Linked DNA regions of Homo sapiens: region 1 is linked to region 2. Evidence: promoter capture Hi-C in 16 types of primary human blood cells and fetal thymus (Javierre and others, 2016). All regions are on one chromosome and are shown on one strand. Each heading gives the region's core, a stretch centred on a gene start or on the middle of the fragment in contact. The rest is flanking DNA. Distances are from core to core; before and after follow the strand shown. Region 1 has its middle 250 kb from the start of SLC14A2-AS1. Region 2 holds the start of SETBP1-DT (SETBP1 divergent transcript).

Region 1 (4,960 bases), core at 1,835-4,334, 580 kb after region 2:
TTTTATCTAACATTCCCTAGTTAGATCTCAGACGGTAGAGGAAAGAGGAGAAAACTCTTACTGAAGTATTTGGATTGTTGTTTCTCACTGGGAGTTAAAGGAACAGAAATAGATAAACTATGGCTGCTACAGAAGAATGAGGTGTCAGCAACAGGGCCAGCCCAAAGCTAAATTGTGGGGAAAAAAATAAGTTGACATCATCTTCATTTCAATCACCCCCTTCCATCTCTTTGAATTCCACTGAAACCTGGCACTTCTTTATGATAGTTCAACTGCCTGGAGAACTCCTGATAGGTGTGTTGTGCAGGGCCAAGAATGGCCTTCTGTGTCCTGCCTCTCCTTCTCTGTGATTCTTACAACTCCAATGCCTCATTCCCTCTTAGCTAATCCTGTGCTAAGGAACAGTTAAACTCAATTCGGTGGAAGGCATCTTAATGGATCATACTTTTGTGTTGCTTCTCTGATGTGATAATTTCATTTTAACAAAGGGTTAGTTACCAATGATAGAACTATCATTAAGACAGATTCTGGAAGGTTCAAATCCAACAGGAAACTTGCTATCACCAATTGATGACCAAAATCAGAACCTAATGGTTTACAGTTTTTACTTCTCAAAACTATTTTTCTTGACTGTGTTGGGAAAGAAAGGGAAAAGGGGCAAATCTCAGGTATAACCTAAATTAGGATTTTGGAATATCAGCTCTGGAAAGACCTTGAAAGGTCAACCAAACATCATAAGTACCCTGTGATGTCCCTTAGGCTGGGGCTCATGGTCAAGGCCATGAAATGGCCGTATATTACCCCTTTACATGGACCAGTGTTGCTCTTGTCTGCAGATTGTATGCTCTAATGTGGATAAATTGTATTTGTTTACATTTCTATAGACAATGCCAGACATTAAATTTTGTCACATCCTGCTACCCTTACCTTCTTTCCTGATGCCTCTACCATGTTCTTCTGAAGGACCCATGTGAAAGAGTGACAGTGTTTTCAAGATGGGCTTGTGTAGAAGTTGGTTTTAGTGACACATTTTCAAAGAGATGGAAGTGAACATTAAACTGATCACTGCATTTGGATCCATTGACTCTATAAAGTGGCAATTTGACTTTGGAAATTAGTTGTTCCAGGGATGATGGACACTGAGGAGTTTTAGATAAATTCACACGTAATAGACTAAGTTGTCTAGGAAGTTATTCCTAACTTTTGTATTTACCAGTGCATGAGACACATGTAATCCTAATGCATACCTTATGGCCCTTCTGCCATTATTGAGACTTTGTATGCTAATTCTTAAGTTCTTCCTCTCTTCTTTTAATAAAATGGCAGGTCAGCTATTGGCCAGCAAGAAGAAAAGTTAATATTTCAATCAATTTTAATCAAATAATGAGCTAGTAATTAAAATATGCAAGTCATGAGTTTTTAGAAATTACAATATGGTTAATATTGTTTCCAATTGATTTCTTTATTTCTATGTAGCTCTTGGCAATCTTAAAATATCAGTATATTGGAGATTTCCTCCATTTCTCCAACCTCATAGAGGAGGTTCCCCAAAGTGTGCCCTGCGGAGAAGGTATAAAATCACTGGTGTTAAGTAGGACCCAAGGGCCCCATAGTCAAGTATGTTTATATTACCTAGGTTGGCTAAAGTTCAATCTCTTTAAGGATTTCTCCCAAGTTTCAAAACGTATGTGCATTGTTTTTCATGTAAAAGGTGGCAATTATCACATATTTGAGCCACAGAACATCCTCTGGGAGAAATATCAGGCACAACTAGTACGCACAAGGACTATTGCTCCCAAATGAAGCACTTTGGAAAACACTTGTAATAATAACAACTACAGTAGTCACAACTGTCATGAGCATTTACTGAGCACTTAGTATATGCCAAGCACTGTTCTTCATATTTGGCATATCCTAGACCCCCGTTTCATTCTCACCACCATCCTATGAGCGAGCTACAGTTATAACCCCCAAGGCATAAAAGGCATAAATCACTTTTCCAAGGTCACCTGTTGTTACTTTTGGAGATGTGATTTGAACGAGGCTGACTGACACTAAAGCCTGGACTCTGCACGCTCACACTGGGCTCCCATCCCTCCTTTCTGTGATGGGAGGTTGACAATGGTAGGACATAGTGCCCAGGAGCCTACCATAACCCAGGAGCACAGATGCCCAGAAGTGCCCGAATCTCACAGACCACCCCTGTTGCAACAGTGAAAACATTACCAGTATCAGGAGTAGGAACATTTGATCAATATTATTATTTCCTATCTGAAATATTTAAACCTCTGAAATCTTAGAACCATTGCAATATGCTACAGCCCAGAATTTAGCACCTGATTTGATCTGCTTTCTTAGGGTTCCAGCTGTGTAAGTCTGGATAAGCTAGGTACTTTTGTCTTCTCAACTGAACTTTAAGCTTCTTGTAGGCAAGGACCTTTCTTATTGCTTCTTCCTGACATAATAAGTGCAAATTATATTGATCAATTGATTTGGATGACCATTTTAATAATCATCCTTTTATTCTTTGTTATAGTATCTTATTTTCCAGTAACGTCATCCACGTGGTCCTTTGCAGTTTGTAAATGCTTTGACCAGTACTGAGATCATTGATCCCCATGACAGCTCAGTGAGGGAGATGGAAGTTGTCTCTCCCCTTTCCAAAGATGACTAGGGGTGTGACTTGATCAGGCTCCTAGAGGAGAATTTGAAGGTGGAAGAACTGGAACTCAATGTAGTTTCTTCAAATCCAGGCCTTGCACTTCTCTCAGCTGCCTTGATCTCTACATCACCTCAGAGAAGTGCAGCGTCTCATCCAGGAACTACCATTCTCATTGGAGTGTGTCCCTTCATATGCTGACACTGGCACACTCACACGTGGATTTCCCTGAGCTCTGGAGCTACACTGCCTTCTAACCCCTACAGTTGCTTTTCAAATAGAAGGCAGTGGTTTTGGCCTGTAAGACATCAGGCAGAAAAGAAAGGGAGGTTTGGAAAACTTCAGTGGTACACTCTTATCTCCTCTCTCCTGCTCAGAGGGTGGAGAAAGATCCCTATCACTCTGGAATAATTTTTAGGGTTAGGACAGCAATAAAGTTCCTTGGAATCATGAATTATGTCCACTGTAGGGTCATAGAGGCAAAACAGGAAGAAATAATATGTTGGAGAGAAATGACAACCCAGGGCAGGGGAAAGAAACAGCATTTGGATAATTCGCCACAGCACAATTGCTGCTGTCTGGAAAAATGAAAGGAGTTTGCAGTGTGCCCCAAATCTATGGGAATTCATTTCACATAAATGGCACCAAAAGAATGATCATAAAGATAGCTACAGACTCAGGATTCCAAGTTGGCTGCCTTATGTTTGGCCAGAAATAATTTAGAAGTATGTAAGTGAGAGAAATACAAAGAGAAGGAAAGGTGAAGAGTAAAGATAAGAGTGATTCATAAATTGAATGAAGATTTTTTTTCCTATGGAATAATGCATTCAGTAAGGAAACAAGTATGTCTTCAAGGGCACTGAAGGAGCACTGCACTTTAGATATTGAAAATGGAACCAAGAAGAATGTGGCCAAAATGCTTAACGAGAAGGGTAATATTTTATTTCTTTAGTAATTGCCAAGCACTGAAGCCCAAGTTTACTCTGAAGGTATATTCTTGGAAGAAAAGAATATAAAGGAGTAATCTGGGGAAGTAGATGGCAGGATTTGTTTTGTCCCTCAGACAAGAGAAAAAATAACGGTAGAGCACAAAGCTTGAGCATTGGGCTCAGTATTTCTGAATTTGTCTTCTCAGATATGGTGCTAATGGAATGATTTTTTTGGTAGAGGGGGAATGGGAGGGAGGGATGTCAAAAAGCTAACTACTCCCTTAGCAAACTCTGACAGAGTTCAGGGAAGACCAGTTCTAGCACTAGAGAATTTTCTATTTTCCAAGTTTGTTAAAATATACACAGATGACAAGTTAGCCTGAAGCAAAATCACGAAATAGGAGAACATTGGCTTTAGGACCTTATGAATCAATCCATCATTAGATATTTATTGAGCAGCTCCTCTGTGCAATGGATCATACTAGGGAAGGCATAAACACAAGGCACATGTGTCCTTGCCCTTGAACAACCTACAGTTTAGTTAGGAAGTCACAAGTTGCTATACCCAGAAGAATTAAATAGTATTCTGAGTCACATCATGAAGTAACAGGAAGAAAGATCTTACAGAGATCTTTAAATTTGAAGAGCAAACACTATGTAGCATTTACCATGTTGCAAGTCAACTTTTAAAAACTTCACACTCAGTAACCCTACTACTGGGTACATACCCAAAGGAAAATAAATGGTTCTGTCAAAAGACATATGCACTCATATGTTCATTGCAGCACTATTCACAATAGAAAAGACATGGAATCAACCTAGGTGCTCATCAAGAGTGGACTGGATAAAGAAAATAAGGTACATATATACAATGGCATACTACTCAGCCATAAAAAATAATGAAATCATGTCCTTTGCAGCAACATGGATGCAGCTGGAGGGCATTATCCTTGAATTAACAATGCAGAAACAGCCAAATGCCATGTATTTTTACTGGCATTTGTTGTAGAATCAACAATGTACTGGCATTTACTGGGAGCTAAACATTGAATACACATGGTCATAATGATGGTAACAACAGATACTGGGGACTACTAGAGAGGGGAGGAAGGGAGTGGGGAAAGGGCTAAAAAACTATGCATTGGGTATGATGATCACCACCAGGGTAACAGGACCATCCGTACCCCAAACCTCAGCATCGTGCAATATACCCATGTAACAAACCTGCACGTGTACCCTCTGAATCCAAAATAAATTTTATTTTCTATTCTCTTAATTTCTTTTTTTTTTTAATTTAAGTTTTAGGGTACATGTGCACAATGTTCAGGTTAGTTACATACGTATACGTGTGCCATGTTGGTGTGCTGCACCC
Region 2 (4,825 bases), core at 374-2,873:
TCCTCTGAAAAAAAGAGGACAGAGCACTTGGATCAGTAAAAGGGTGAACTATCCGTTCTGAGTCAGACTGAATCTGCATCCAGACAGGAATCGGGATGGGATTGGGGCTGGAAGGGGTTCACCCTTCAATCCCCAGTCTCTTTCACTCCACTTCACTGCAGCGTTCCTATGAAAAACTTGACGAAGAAGTTCTGTGAAGGAACTCAAACCAGCAGCCAATGCAGGGAGGCAGCCACTGATGGCCTCAGTGAGGGAATGCCCCCGACGTACCTCCAAATCATTCCTCAGTCCAAATAGCCTAAAACTCTCATGAAGAACGTGATAGGAGTCCTCTCAGAATCCGAGTCCTCGGTCAACTTTACCCCAAGTTCTTTGAGCGGAACCATTTGCAGACCTTCCCGAATCCGTATCTATCCTATATTGTTTTACAATGTAGACATGTCTCTGAAGGGTTCCATTCGTGTTTCCCTGAAAAGACCCCCTTTGTAGGCCAAATACAAAAACTCAGAGATTACAAATGCCACCATATTTTGTAAGAACTGAAGACATTCCACTTTGTTCTTCCCACCCTGAAAACAACTGCATGCCAGTCTGCGTTTGTCATCTCTCCGTGTCCTTCCCTTCATCAAGTGTCCAATTCTCTTGAATAACGAGAAAATGCACATGAGATCTGAATGCATACAAGTCGCTTAACAACAACAATAAAATAATAATAATAATTTAAAAAAACCCTGAAAGTGAAATATAATTACCAGGTTAAAAAAAAAATGCGCCCAGTTTCGAGAGCCTATCACAGCTCACGTCTGGGCGCGCAGTACCCCCCCGACACTGCTCCTGTTGTGTCAGATAGTGGCAGTGTTGAGCCCAGGAATACGCGCGGAGCCCGCGGCGATCCCCGCGGCCGCTCAGTCTTCGCGGCGGACTCCGGCGCGCAGGAGCCACTGGGCCGCAAGGGCGCCGGGGAGCGGGAGGGGCGCTGGGGGCGGCAAGGGGTCCCAGATCCCAGGCCACGAACTGTTTTCCTTTTCCCCGGGCAAGAGCCCCGCTCCCTTCAACTGACAGAAATTCACTGGGGCAGGGGGGCGAGTGGGGAGAGAGGTCGCTCAGGGCTCGCTACTGGCTGCGCCTCCCCCGGCTCTGGTCTGGGAAGCGGCTCTGGGCCCTCCGGGCGAGCAGCTTGGGCGCCGGCGCCCCCTGCGAGGAAGATCGCGGGGTGACGGTCGGTACCCGTTCGGCTGGGCCGCGCTGCCGCTCCGATCCACCTCCCTTCCGCGCCCGCGCCCTCCCCCTTCCTTTCACTAGGAGTCCGGGATTCGGAGAGGGCGCGGGAGGCAGGCACACGGGCCCGACCCCACTCCAGCGCTCACCGGGGACGCGGGCGGGCGGCGACGGGACGCGGCGGGGGCGCGGGGCGGGCGCGGCCATGGAGCAGCAGCGGCGGCGGCGGCGGCGGCGGCGGCAACACTAGCGACCGCGGGCGGACGAGCGGGCGGGCAGGGCCGCCGGGCTCAGCGGACCGAACTGCACAGCTCAGCAAAAGCGCCCTCGCCCTCCGCGCGCCGCCTCCTGCGAGCCCAAACCCACCAACATTTTTTAACGCTCCAACCCATCCTTTGAAGAAAAGCAAAAAAAAAAAAAAAAAAAAAAAAAAAAGCAAAAAAAGAAAAAGCATTGATCGGAGAGACGGGGATATATATATATATATATATATATATATATATATAAAATTTTTTTTGGCTCCTGCTAAAATTAGCAGGGCTCGCCGCGCGCCTGTGTGCCAGTGTGTGCGAGTGTGTGTGCGTGCGGGCGTGTGTGTGTGAATGTGATTACTCCAGGACTCCTCGGGCTCCGGAGACGCCATTTTCCCCCTTGATATCTCTCTCCATAAATCGGTGGCGCGGCGGAGGCGGCAGAGTCGGGCGGGAAGCGCGGGGCCGGCCGGGGCGCCCGCCGCTCGCCGCCGCCTCCGCGCGCCCGGGGGCCCCGGCGCCCCCCGAGCTAGGGCGGCCAGCTCGCGGCTCGCCGTTTGACAGATGCTCATCGCCATGGAGTTGCCGCAGCAGCACCTTTGGGGGCTCGGGCGAGCGACGGGAGCCGGGATCTGAGCGAGCGCCGGGGCCAGCGGAGCCGGAGCCGCCGGGACATGGGTGAGCACGCGCGGCGACCTTGGCCCGGGAGCCCGGGCGCCCAGCCTCCCTCCGCGCCGCGGGCCCCCGCACTCCCGGAACCGGGGGCGACGTGTGTGCCCTGCATGCAAAAGTTCACGTCGCCTTGCTGGGTCTTTGACTTTGCACCCGGCGGGAAGGGGGAGACCGGGCCGAGGGGGCGGGATGCCGGTCCGGGCGAGGTTGCAGGAGATGGGCGCGATTCCGGCGGGCCGGCGGGTGGGCGGCGATGCTGGCTCAATTGGAGTGGCTCGTTGGTGGCGGCGATGGTGGAAGCTTTGGGCTGGAGGGCTGGGAGCTTATTGAGTTTCGCCTAATCTGATCTACCCCCCCTCCGCCCCCCGCCTTTTGCACCCTCCCTCGGTCCTGCAGCCGGCTGGCGGGGCTGGCGGGTTTGGCGTTGGTGGAGTGGACTCGGGAGGGGGAGGGGGTAAGGAAAGGGGTGGGAAGGCAGGATTTTTTTTTTCTCTCTTTGTAACTTGCAGGTTAAGTGGAGCTAGAGAGCTACATTGTAACCTAGTTGGATTTTTTTGGGGGGGGAATGTATCAGAATCTAACGTGTCGTTAATAGAAAGAAGAACAGGCAAGAAGTGGTCCAGCCGGCGAAGGTTGGTGTGTGCTTGTGTTGTGCCTGTGTGTTAGTCTTTTTCTTAAAAATCTTAATCAATGGATTTGAGTCTCTTTCTTGTGCTCTCTGGTTTTGGGACTCTGAAAAGATAGGAATTCCCTTAAAAGCAGACGAATGCCTTTTTGAAAGCACGCATTGTGTGCGTTTCTAGAGGAGCCGTGGGCTTGGGAATGAACGGCAGGCTTCCCCGTTCGGTGGTTTCCAGTGGGAAATCACTCCGGAAAGGGAACCCTTCGGTATCGATTTATTGTTTTTGTCTTCCAAACCATTATCTCTTTGACCGAAATACTGTCTGAGAAGTTCCGCAGGGACAAAGTCAGGTAAACTGGACCGGGCAGATCTTTGGCAAGATGGTGATAACGGGGATGCTGTTTTCAGTGTCTGTTTGTGATGGAAGCATTGTTGGGTAATAGCAATTTCTGATCGGTAGAGCATGCTGGTTCTAAAAAAATAAGTTAACTGCCGAAATACTGTCTTCCAGCCCCCCTCCCCTGCACAGTACAGCACCTATTCCCCCCGCCCCCCCATCCAGACCGCTTACTACAAGTCTGAAATCGGATCCAACTGGAAATATTTTCATTGGAGATTGAAAGTTGTGCAATTGGAAATAGATGAGGCTAGAGGTATTGAGAGTGTGGAAGGGGAGTTCTTATTGCCCCCTAATGCTGCATTTATTCTTTATGTGTGTCTGTGTTGGATTCTCAGGGTGTGTATCTGTCTAAAAGGACTGTTGTGGGAAGGATTTCCGATTCGTTTCCGTTTCAAATAAACTGTCCTGATAATCTCACGGTTGACATCTAACGCTAAAAGGGCAATTTGTGTGTCTCTTTATCCCTGCAGAAACTCTCCTCCAAAAGGGCAGTTTATTCTGGAATTCTACAGCAGATACCTTTCCCTTCCAGCCCCTACACTCCCCCCACCTCCTGCCAACTATCCACACCTTTCCCCTTAAAGTTTAGTTGGAGTCCACTGGCGTTGATTGTTTTTCTCTTACATCTTTTTCCTTCTTTTTCTTTTCATTCCTTCACTCTTCATCCTGTTTTTCTTCTTTTTCTGTAGATTTATACTAAAAACTAATTTCTTGAAGTCTCTGTACTGTCACCAAAACTATCTGCCGATTTGGCACCATCTCTTACCCTCCTTTAGTAAATAGGTATATCTCCTGTGCCCCATCCAAACTCATCTTCACGTGCAAAGCATGTGTGTGTCGTGGGAGAAAGGGGATGGGGTAGAGAAGAGGTATTTGGAGAGGAAGGGCGGTGTTGTGTGCAGGCCACATCTTCAACACTGGACCAGACCTGGGCATTCCGGGGAGAGTTTCCTTTGCACACCCCAGCTGGGATGGGAAGGCGGAGCCAACCAGACAGGGGCGTGTGAGGGAGGAGAAAGTTTGTAGCACTTTAAGATGTAGCTAGTTTACCATCCCAGGTCACTCCCTCCCTTTTTTTCTGATTTCTCTGGCTTCTACCATCCTTAAACTCCCTGAGGGAGGCGTGAGCTCTTTTGCTCTGACGAGGGATTCCCAGGTGTCAGAGTGAAGGTGAGGTGCTGTGTTTTCCCCTGTGCTTAGTCTCATTGCCTGTTCCCAGAAAAGGGTATTAAGACAGAGTGTTTGGGGGAAAGTCGGAAGAGGAGGAAGAAATCAAGTGTGGTTAAACAGAGTATTTGCAAACGGCAGGGAATGTAGCCCCCAAAGATATGGAGACCAGGTACCCAGAGTGTTGCTTGGCACACGATTTCTCCTCCCCCGTTAAGGGGACAAAACCAAAACCAAAACAAACTATTGGTCTTGGGAAGTTGAGTTGGTGTTAGACCTGGGCTGTGGGAGTTGCTAGCCACTATAGTAACCTGAGCTGAGCTGGGGGAGGAGGTGGTGAGCGAATGCACCACCGGGAGCCAGAGGAGGGAAAGGGACTCGTCTCTCTTAGCTGGGAAAATAGATGTATCTCTGGAATAAACAAACTGGAGGTGGGGGAGGGGATGGCTTGCAGTGAACATAAGGTGGAGTGTCTGAGAGGCAGTAGTGTCGGTT

Evidence for each region. Contacts are between HindIII fragments. The CHiCAGO score rates a contact against its expected background, and 5 or more counts as called.
Region 1: a fragment that was not itself captured here is called in contact with the fragment with the promoter of SETBP1-DT in region 2 in 1 of 17 cell types (naive B cells); the score reaches 5.6 in naive B cells.

What each region holds. Positions count from the first base shown.
Region 1 is chr18:45,256,152-45,261,111 of GRCh38, forward strand. It overlaps a transcript of SLC14A2 not described here. Among named protein-coding and RNA genes, the nearest start is that of SLC14A2-AS1, 250 kb to the right of the region's middle. The HindIII fragment of the contact is 1,334 bases long and covers 2,418-3,751 here.
Region 2 is chr18:44,678,249-44,683,073 of GRCh38, forward strand. It overlaps SETBP1-DT (SETBP1 divergent transcript), which reads right to left and starts at 1,624. Exons shown (of 2, transcript NR_187430.2): 1 at 1,368-1,624; 2 at 1-641. SETBP1 (SET binding protein 1) reads left to right here and starts at 2,640. Exons shown (of 6, transcript NM_015559.3): 1 at 2,640-2,773. RefSeq lists silencers at 765-1,404, 2,075-2,324, 2,465-2,514 and enhancers at 4,386-4,455, 4,566-4,635, 4,686-4,775. The HindIII fragment of the contact is 7,071 bases long and covers 1-2,439 here.